Linked DNA regions of Homo sapiens: regions 1 and 3 are each linked to region 2. The links are contacts of gene promoters, found by promoter capture Hi-C in human tissues and cell types (Jung and others, 2019). All regions are on one chromosome and are shown on one strand. The core of a region is centred on a gene start or on the middle of the fragment in contact, and the rest is flanking DNA. Distances in the headings are between cores, read along the strand shown. Region 1 has its middle 17 kb from the start of ABI1. Region 2 holds the start of ANKRD26 (ankyrin repeat domain containing 26). Region 3 has its middle 7.8 kb from the start of ACBD5.

Evidence for each region. The method cuts DNA at HindIII sites, captures the fragments that hold promoters and counts their contacts. A contact is called where the count stands out against the background at its distance.
Region 1: a contact is called between a fragment that was not itself captured here and the fragment with the promoter of ANKRD26 in region 2, in 1 of the 25 tissues and cell types used here (spleen).
Region 3: a contact is called between a fragment that was not itself captured here and the fragment with the promoter of ANKRD26 in region 2, in 1 of the 25 tissues and cell types used here (spleen).

The regions. Positions count from the first base shown.
Region 1 is chr10:26,876,544-26,879,243 of GRCh38, forward strand. No RefSeq gene overlaps it. Among named protein-coding and RNA genes, the nearest start is that of ABI1, 17 kb to the left of the region's middle. The HindIII fragment of the contact is 4,104 bases long and covers 1-2,700 here.
Region 2 is chr10:27,099,019-27,101,828 of GRCh38, forward strand. It overlaps ANKRD26 (ankyrin repeat domain containing 26), which reads right to left and starts at 1,476. Exons shown (of 34, transcript NM_014915.3): 1 at 1,067-1,476. The coding sequence starts at 1,308. RefSeq lists an enhancer at 913-972 and a silencer at 1,143-1,322. The HindIII fragment of the contact is 17,734 bases long and covers 1-2,810 here.
Region 3 is chr10:27,247,134-27,249,992 of GRCh38, forward strand. It overlaps the pseudogene LRRC37A6P. Among named protein-coding and RNA genes, the nearest start is that of ACBD5, 7.8 kb to the left of the region's middle. The HindIII fragment of the contact is 5,017 bases long and covers 1-2,859 here.

The DNA.
Region 1 (2,700 bases), core at 197-2,696, 220 kb before region 2:
CAGCCTCCCAAAGAGTTCGGATGACAGGTGCATGTCACTACTCTGAGCCTCTTTTAAGTTTTTTGTTCGTTTGTTTGTTTGTTTGTTTGAGACAACGTCTTGCTCTGTCAACCAGGCTGGAGTGCAGTGGTGTGAACATGGCTACTGTAACCTCGAACTCCTAGGCTCAAGCCCTGCCTCAGCCTCCTGGATAGCTGGGACTACAGGTGCATACCACAACACCCAGCTGTCTTTTTTTTTTTTTTAGAGACAGGATCTCACCATGTTGTCCAGGCTGGTCTCCTTTTAAGTTTCTGATTCAGCTTTTTATTTGCCAGATTGGTATCACTGCCTCAGTCACTTCAATTGCAAATCATTGCCACTGATTGGTTTTGACAAATGTCCTGAGGATAGGAATGTATTGGTCAAATAAAGGTGAGTCCTGAGAATGGGATCTTTCCCAGGAGCCTTCAGTCAGGTAAAATTGTGACAATTCTCTTTAGATTAGAGTTTGGGGGTTTACACCAAACCTGTTCCTCCCTCTCAAATAACTGTTATGCTGCTGCTTTTCATAGCTACCATGATTGTCAAGTTCACCTTCAGGGCTACTGTGAAGCTGGGGAGAGAAGGATAAGAGTAAGAGAAGTTAAAATATAAAAAGCTTCCTGTTTTTACTGAGATTCAGATGTTTTTCTTGAATCAATGCTGCTCAGATTATTGCAAGCCTTAATTTCCAACGTTTTGAAAAAGATGACTTTTGCAATTTTTGCCAGTGTTCTCATTGCTTCCATGGTCTTTGAAGGTGTCTACTCCACTGTTCTGGAAGTGCCATCCCTTATTTGCTCTTTTTTTGTATGTTTGTTTTTTGAGACAGGGTCTCCCTCTGTCACACGGGGTAGACTGCAGTGATCCAATCATAGTTCACTGCAGCCTCAACCTCCTGGACTCAAGCAATCCTCCCACCTCAGCCTTCTTAGTAGCTAGGACCATAGGCTAGAGTCACTGCACCCAGCTAATTTTTAAATGTTTTGTAAAGACAGAGTCTCACTGTGTTGTCCAGGCTGGTCTCAAACTCCTGGGCTCAAGAGATCCTCCCTCCCTGGCTTTCCAAAGTGCTGGGATTCTAGGCATGAGCCACCGTGCCTAACTCGCTCATTTCTTTTAAATCTAAGCTTAACTATCCACACCTGTGTGACCCTGGGCAAGGTGTATAATTTTGCCAGGACTTACCTATGTCTTGTAAACAATAAATGAAATAATATAGATAATACCGTAAAGTAGTTAGCACAACACTCATTTAGGCCCAGCGAGATGGCTCATGCCTGTAATCCCAGCATTTTGGGAGGCCAAGGCGGGGAGATCACCTGAGGTCGGACGTTCGAGACCAGCCTGGCCAACATAGCGAAACCCTGTCTCTACTAAAAATACAAAAATTAGCCTGGCATGGTGGCAGGCACCTGTAATCCCAGCTACTCGGGAGGCTGAGGCAGGAGAATCGCTTGAACATGGGGGGCGGAGGTTGCAGTGAGCTGAGATGGTGCCAATGCACTCAGCCTGGTTGACTGAGCAAGACTCCGTCTCAAAAATAAATAAATAAATAAATATAAAAAATACACATAAATAAATTAAAATAAATACATTTTTAAAAGTGAGTGCTCAGAGGCTGGGCTCAGTGGCTTATGCCTGTAATCCTGGCACTTTGGGAGGTTGAGGCAGGTAGATCACTTGAGCCCAGAAGTTCAAGACCAGCCTAGGCAACACTGTGAGACCCCAGTCTAAAAAAAAAAAAGGTGAGTGTTCAAGAAATGTAAGCACTTCTGATAGAAAGTATTTTTTTTAGATGGAGTCTCGCTCTGTCACCCAGGCTGGGGTGCAATGGCTTGATCTCGGCTCACTGCAACCTCTGCCTCCTGGGTTCAAGCAATTCTCCTGCCTTAGCCTCCAGAGTAGCTGGGATTACACGTGCACGCCACCATGCCTGGCTAATTTTTCTATTTTTAGTAGAGACAGGGATTTCACCATGTTGGCCAAGCTGGTCTCAAACTCCCAACCTCAGGTGATCACCCGGCTTGGCCTCCCAAAGTGCTGGGATTATAGGCATGAGCCACTGTACCCAGCCGCTTTTTTGTCCATTTAACCATATATTCTGGAGATCATTCTATATCAAACATTAAAAACTTCCCCATTATTTTTCGTGCTATTCCACTGGTCATAATTATTCAGTCAGTCTCATGTTGAAAGACATTTAAATTGTTTTTAATCCTCGACTATCACCACAATATTGCAATAAATAGTTTTTATTTTACACAAGGAAATCTAGCCCTGTATGTTATTAAAACAATTTAAGTGCTACTATAATTAAAATGGCTTGGTAATGGTACATAAATAGTTAAAGAGATAAGAACAAAAGAATAGAAAATTCAGAAACAGGCCCTAAAATATATACGAACCAGTATTTTCTGGTTTTGAGGACAATTCCATTATTATTTGGAACACACCAGCCTATTGCAGGCAAGAAAAACATTCAGTTTCTGAAGGAAAACAGTCCAACCTTTTAGTTCTGACTAATCCTGGCTGAAAATAGTTTACTGGATTTGGCTTTATTGAAATAAACAAAAGCTTGAGTTATCAAAAAAAGATCTGCATTGCAAAATTAATTTTTATGTAATAGAATTTCCCCCTTTTCCCACTGTTTCCAGAGTTTCCAACAGCATATAACTT
Region 2 (2,810 bases), core at 226-2,725:
TTGCTCTTGTTGCCCAGGCTGGAGTGCAATGGCACGATCTTGGCTCACTGCAACCTCTGCCTCCCAGGTTCAAGCGATTCTCCTGCCTCAGTCTTCGGAGTAGCTGAGATTACAGGCTCCCACCACCATGCCTAGCTAATTTTTGTATTTTTAGTAGAGACGGGGTTTCACCATGTTGGCCAAGCTGGTCTCGAACTTCTGACCTCAGGATATCCGCTTGCCTTGGTCTCCTAAAATGCTGGGTTTACAGGCGCGAGCCACCACGCCTGGCCTCTACTGCCACTTTCAATGGTCACATATTATCATGCACTGACATTTATTCACAAAATCCATTCTATGGGTTCTCCTTAATACACTGCTTAAGCAATGCTGAGAAAAACAAATTACTTGTATATCTATTTCCTAAAGGCATTTTATTTCTTTTTCTTTTTGAAAGATAGGGTCTTGCTCTGTTGTCACTGACATACCTCACTGCAGCCTAGAACTCCTGGGCTCAAGTGATGCTCCTGCCTCAGCCTTCCAAGTAGCTGAGACTATTAGAGTTGGGGGGGGGGGTCTCGCTATAATGCCCAGGCTGGCCTTGAACTCCTGGCCTCAAGCAATCCTCCCGCCTCAGCCTCCCGAAGTGCTGTGATTACAGGCGCGAGCCACCGCGCCTGACGAATAACAGATTTTATAGAAATAATTTTTAACCCAGAAGTTGCTATATTATGGAAACTGCTTATCTCATTATGCACCTTTCCATAAGTGTATGACATTGTATCTTAAATGTGTACATTAAAAATAAAACGCTGTACGTGCTTTTGTTCGTTAATTCACTTTAAAATTGTCACTTAAGTGCTCTCTAAGGGATTTCGGGGGGATCGGAAACCAGCTAGAGTTCTGTTTTTGTTTTTCTGCTCAGAAAGGCGGCCTGGGCGCTGGAGCCCTGCAAGGTGTCACCGTCCCAGGGGCTACGGAGCCCGCGGGAGGCTGATCCAGGCCCTGGGTGGCTCCCACAAAAGGGGCCCCTCTTCCTGCCCGCCTACTCCAGTGGCACTCAGTCCGGGCTTGCGACGCCTATTACCTGTTCATCTTGTCTCTATCGTTCAAGCCATTCTTCCTGAGCAAAAGGATCTGCTGCACTTTCGCCACATTACCCGCGCTGGCAGCTTTGTGGATCTTGCCGAGATCTCGGTCTCGGACGTGGTAGCCGGGCTGCGAGTAGGCGCCCTCCCCCGGCTCGCCCCCGCCTCCCGCGCTGCTCCTCTGCCGCCGCGCGAAGGAGCCCAAGGGCGACTCGCCCTTCTTACTAAAAATCTTCTTCATGGCCCAGGCGACCGGGCTTCAGAGACACCTCATGTCTCTCTCGGCTCTTAACGGCCTCCGGAGCCCAACATAACAAGTCAGCCCCGGCTGGCCGCAGCCTCCCAAAGGAAACTCCGCGGTTTCCAATCTCTCCCTCCGGGTTACCAAGCAAGCGATCCCGCTAGACACAAGTGCGCATGCGCACCTCAGATGGCAAGGTCCACGCGCGTGCGCACGAAGGCCCAGTGGTCAAGTGTGCTCCATGCGCATGTGCAAGGCCCAGACCTCGCAAATCTCGGCGACTGGGACGAGCCCTGCGTTCCTGTCAAACAAATGTCGGTGGGAGTCTGGCTGAGTGTTCAGGACGTTTGCGAAAAGAAGCCTCGCGCCTGTGGGGAAGCAGCCTTTACGCATGACTGGGACTGGAGTAGCGTGGAGTTTTAAGATGCTGAAAGCCTCTTCTCCGAGAAAACTCCCCTAAGAAACTCTCTGAATCTCCCTATCTCTCAGTTTATTCCCCTTCCATGTCCCTTTGGGTGCCATCTGGTCTCCATGAGAACTTAACAGATGCAACAACAGAGGGCACAGGATTTCGGAGATCGTGGCATATGTGTCAAGTGCAGAGGGCACAGGATTTCGGAGATCGTGGCAATATGTGTCAAGTGCAAACTTACGAGGAGAAACCAATGCACATTCTCCAGAAGAAATGAGAACGCATTTCTGCATGCCTCCTTCCCCCACCCCTCTGCCTTTGGCCCAGCCTTATGTTTTATTTTTTGCTTTTGATTTTCCAAGGTTACATCTCTTTCTTCTTTTTTTTTTTTTTTTCCCCAACAGAGTCTCGCTTTGTCGCCCAGACTGTAGTGCAGTGGTGCAATCACGGCTCACTGCAGTCTCCACCTCCTGGGCTCAACGATACTCCCACCTCAGCCTCCTGAGTGAGTAGCTGAGACTACAGACGCAAGCCACCACGCCCGGCTATTTTTGCATTTTTTGTAGAGACAGGGTCTCACCATGTTGCCCAGGCTGGTCTCCGACTCCAGGGCTCAAATGATGCTCCCATCTCAGCCTCCCAAAGTGCTGGGATTACAGGTGTGAACCACCACGCCCAGCCTAGATTGAATAATTTGACAACAAATTGGAATTAGCAACGCAGACGTCAAGTGGAGTCTCAGCAGAAATTGCTGCTGGAATGCACCTCCATAGCTCTGGACAGCTCTAGGGTCCCTTGTGGAGGAGGTGGCTGGCCCCAGAACAGGCGTCTTTATTGCCAAGTGAGAAATGAGCAAAAACAAAACAACACTTCTCAGGCCTCTCCAGCTTAGCTAGATCAAATGGTTTTGATGTGGGAGAGTGGTTTCCACTATCGTCACCAAGAATTTTCCTCCTACACTACCCCAGCTAGAAAGTTATGTTGTCTCCTCAACACTCCCCAAGGTGATCTATGAAGCTAGTCAAGTCCCAGCACTTTAGGAGGCCGAGGTGGGTGGATTACCTGAGGTCAGGAGTTCGAGACCAGGCCA
Region 3 (2,859 bases), core at 258-2,757, 150 kb after region 2:
CTTTGGGAAAGGGAATTTATGAGGCTCTTCACTGCAGAGAATGGAGGCCTCTTTGCGAGCATCAGTCTAATGAGGTAATTTTTCTTTCTGAACTTTGGACTCTTTTTGGCCTTGAGTGTTCTGTGGGCCATGCGGGAGCAAGTTTTATGAAAGCAGTATTTTTTTCTGGAATGTACGATTGGTTTAGCAGCCTTCATATTTTTAACTCTAGCCTTTGCATTTTCTAAAATGAAAATGGTGTAGGTTAAGTCTTTTGCTCTGTCTCTGACCTGAGGTAGGGCTTTTGCAGGGGTGGAGGCAGAAGGCACACCCATGGAGAAGGGTTTCAGCACAGAGGAGACTGCGGCCTTATGCTCTTGGATGAATGAAGGCTTGGTGTAGATGGTGTTTCCCACTAACTTGTCAGGCCCCTGCTCTATGTGAGGCTGTCTCAGCTCCCTTGGGGCTGGACTCCCGAGCCTTTTTTCTTTGGCAGCGTTCTCTGCAAATGCCTGGGCACCCTGTTCCCTCCTGATCCTCTGCTTTCCACCTCTTTGAAGTGCCTTTTCAAGATGCTCCTTGGGCCCATGAGGACTCTGTTCACTCTCTGCAGGTTTTTGCCTACACTTTGAATCTTTGCCAGGCTGCTTTCCTGTGGTTAGATAGTTTCTAATTTCTTTTCAAATATTTGGCATTTAAATTTGTTACCTAGAAGGCTGGACTGCATAAGCATGGCAGTTTTTTCTTCCCTTTTAACTTCATCAATTTTTTCTTGTATTTCTGCATCTAACATACTTTCCAGCAAATACAGCTTTCTCAATTTATTTTCATAAGTTGAGTTGTTGGATGCAGGTTGAAGAGAGGGGCTCTTTGTATTGTTATTCAAAATACCCAGGAGCCTATCTCCATCTTGCACATTTGAAGAAAGCAGATTAATGAAGGGTAACAACATTGATTTCACATCTAGATTTACCGCTGAGAAATAAAGCAAGATGTAACTTAGTGCACTGATAACATCCCTCTCATCATTGGTGTCTAGCTGCCCACTCCCAAAGCCTGACAAATTGATGCCATTGCTGTCTGAGGCTGCCTCCGGCTCAATAGTCAGCTCAGTGCTCGTGTGCTTCTTCTGGGCTTGTAACACCTTCATGAACACTCCTGGATTCTCTACAGATGCTTCTTCAGACAATGTATGGTGTTTGTCAGAAATGCACTGCTGCAATGCAGCTTGACTGTCTTGCAGACAGCCTCAGTGCTATTTTTAAATTGGCAGAGGCAGCAGGTCATATGGCTAGGTAAGATCAGTTTCTCCAGTTCAACAGTCATCACGAGAATGTTCTCAATTGTTGTAAGTGGGACTTGCATTGTTCCCGTGTCTAGATATTTAAATGCTGACAATTTAAAGAGATATGGATCTTCAACAGTTGTCAGAGGATTGCGATTGAGAATTAACTTGTGTAAAAACTGCATTCCATGCCAGGCCTGAAATGTTCCAAAGCTCAGTTCTGTGAGTAAATTGCAACCAAGATTTATAAACTGCAAAAATGGTAGTGGTTCAAATGTATGTCTTTCGATAGACTGTATTTTATTGCAGGATAAATCTAAATACTGGAGGGATAGCAGGCCTTTAAATGAATCGTTATGTAATTCAGTCAAATAATTTTCATTGAGAATTAGTTTCCCGGTCCAACTGTATGCTTTCCATACATTTCCATCAATGTAAGAAATATAGTTTCCTTGGAAATTTAAGATGGTGAAGGTGCCATGGTAGGTGTTGGGCTCTGGCACAGGCACTTGGCAGAGCCTCTGTTTTGGGCTGAGATCAATACACGACAGCGTCTCACCTCCGCAGGTACAGAGCTCACATATGTTGGTGCTTGTGGAGGCCTACTGTTCCTCTGGTGCGGTTAAAGCCTTATTTTGGGCGTAACTTTCAGACTGCACCAGTGAATCCTGAGTAGGTTCTAGTTCAGTAGGTGGACCTGTGACTTCAGTCAGTTTTCGATGCAGAGTCTGAACCTGGTCTGGATGAGGAGCTGTAGTCTTCTCCAGGGCTGTAGAATGTCCAGTCTCTGTAGTGGGCTCTGGAGTTATGGCAAGCCCCAGGTCTGGAGGCTGAGTTGAGGTCTCCTCCGTGGTTGGAGACGGTTTAACCTCTGTAGTAGGTTCTGTAGTTATGGTAAGCTCCAGGTCCAGAGGTGGAAGTGTGACTTGAGTCAGGTTTGAATGCTGAGCCCGACCCTTGTCTGAAGGTGGAAGTGTCACCTCAGGGTGTTCTGGAGGAGGAGCTGTAGTCGTCAGGGCTGCAGAAGGTTCAATCTCTGTTGTGGATTCTGGAGTGGTGGTAAGCCCCAAATCCAAAGGTTGAACTGTGGCTTGAGTCAGGTTTGAATGCTGAGTCTGAACCTGGTCTGGATGTGGAAGTGTCACCTTAGGGTGCTTTGGAGGAACTACATTCTTCTTCAGGGGTGTAGAATGTCCAACCTCCGTAGTGGGTTCTGGAGTGATGGTAAGTCCCAGGTCCAAAGGTTGAACTGTAATGCTGGGTGACATTGGATGCTGAGCCTGATCCTGACCTGGTGTTGGAATTGTAACCTCTTGATATACTGGAAGTTGGGGTACAACTTTCTTAGGAGGATGAGTTGGGGTCTCCTGCATGGTTGGAGAAAGTTCAACTTCTGTTGTGGATTCTGGAGTGATGGTAAGCCCCAGGTCCAAAGGTTGAACTGTGGCTTGAGTCAGGTTTGAATGTTCCGGAGATTGAGCTACAACTACATTAGGGAGCTCTGGAGTCTCAGCTGGGGCCTCCTGCTGGGTTAGAGAAGACTTACCCTTCTCAGCAGTCTGTGGATGCTCAGCTGCAGCTTCCTGCTGGGTTGG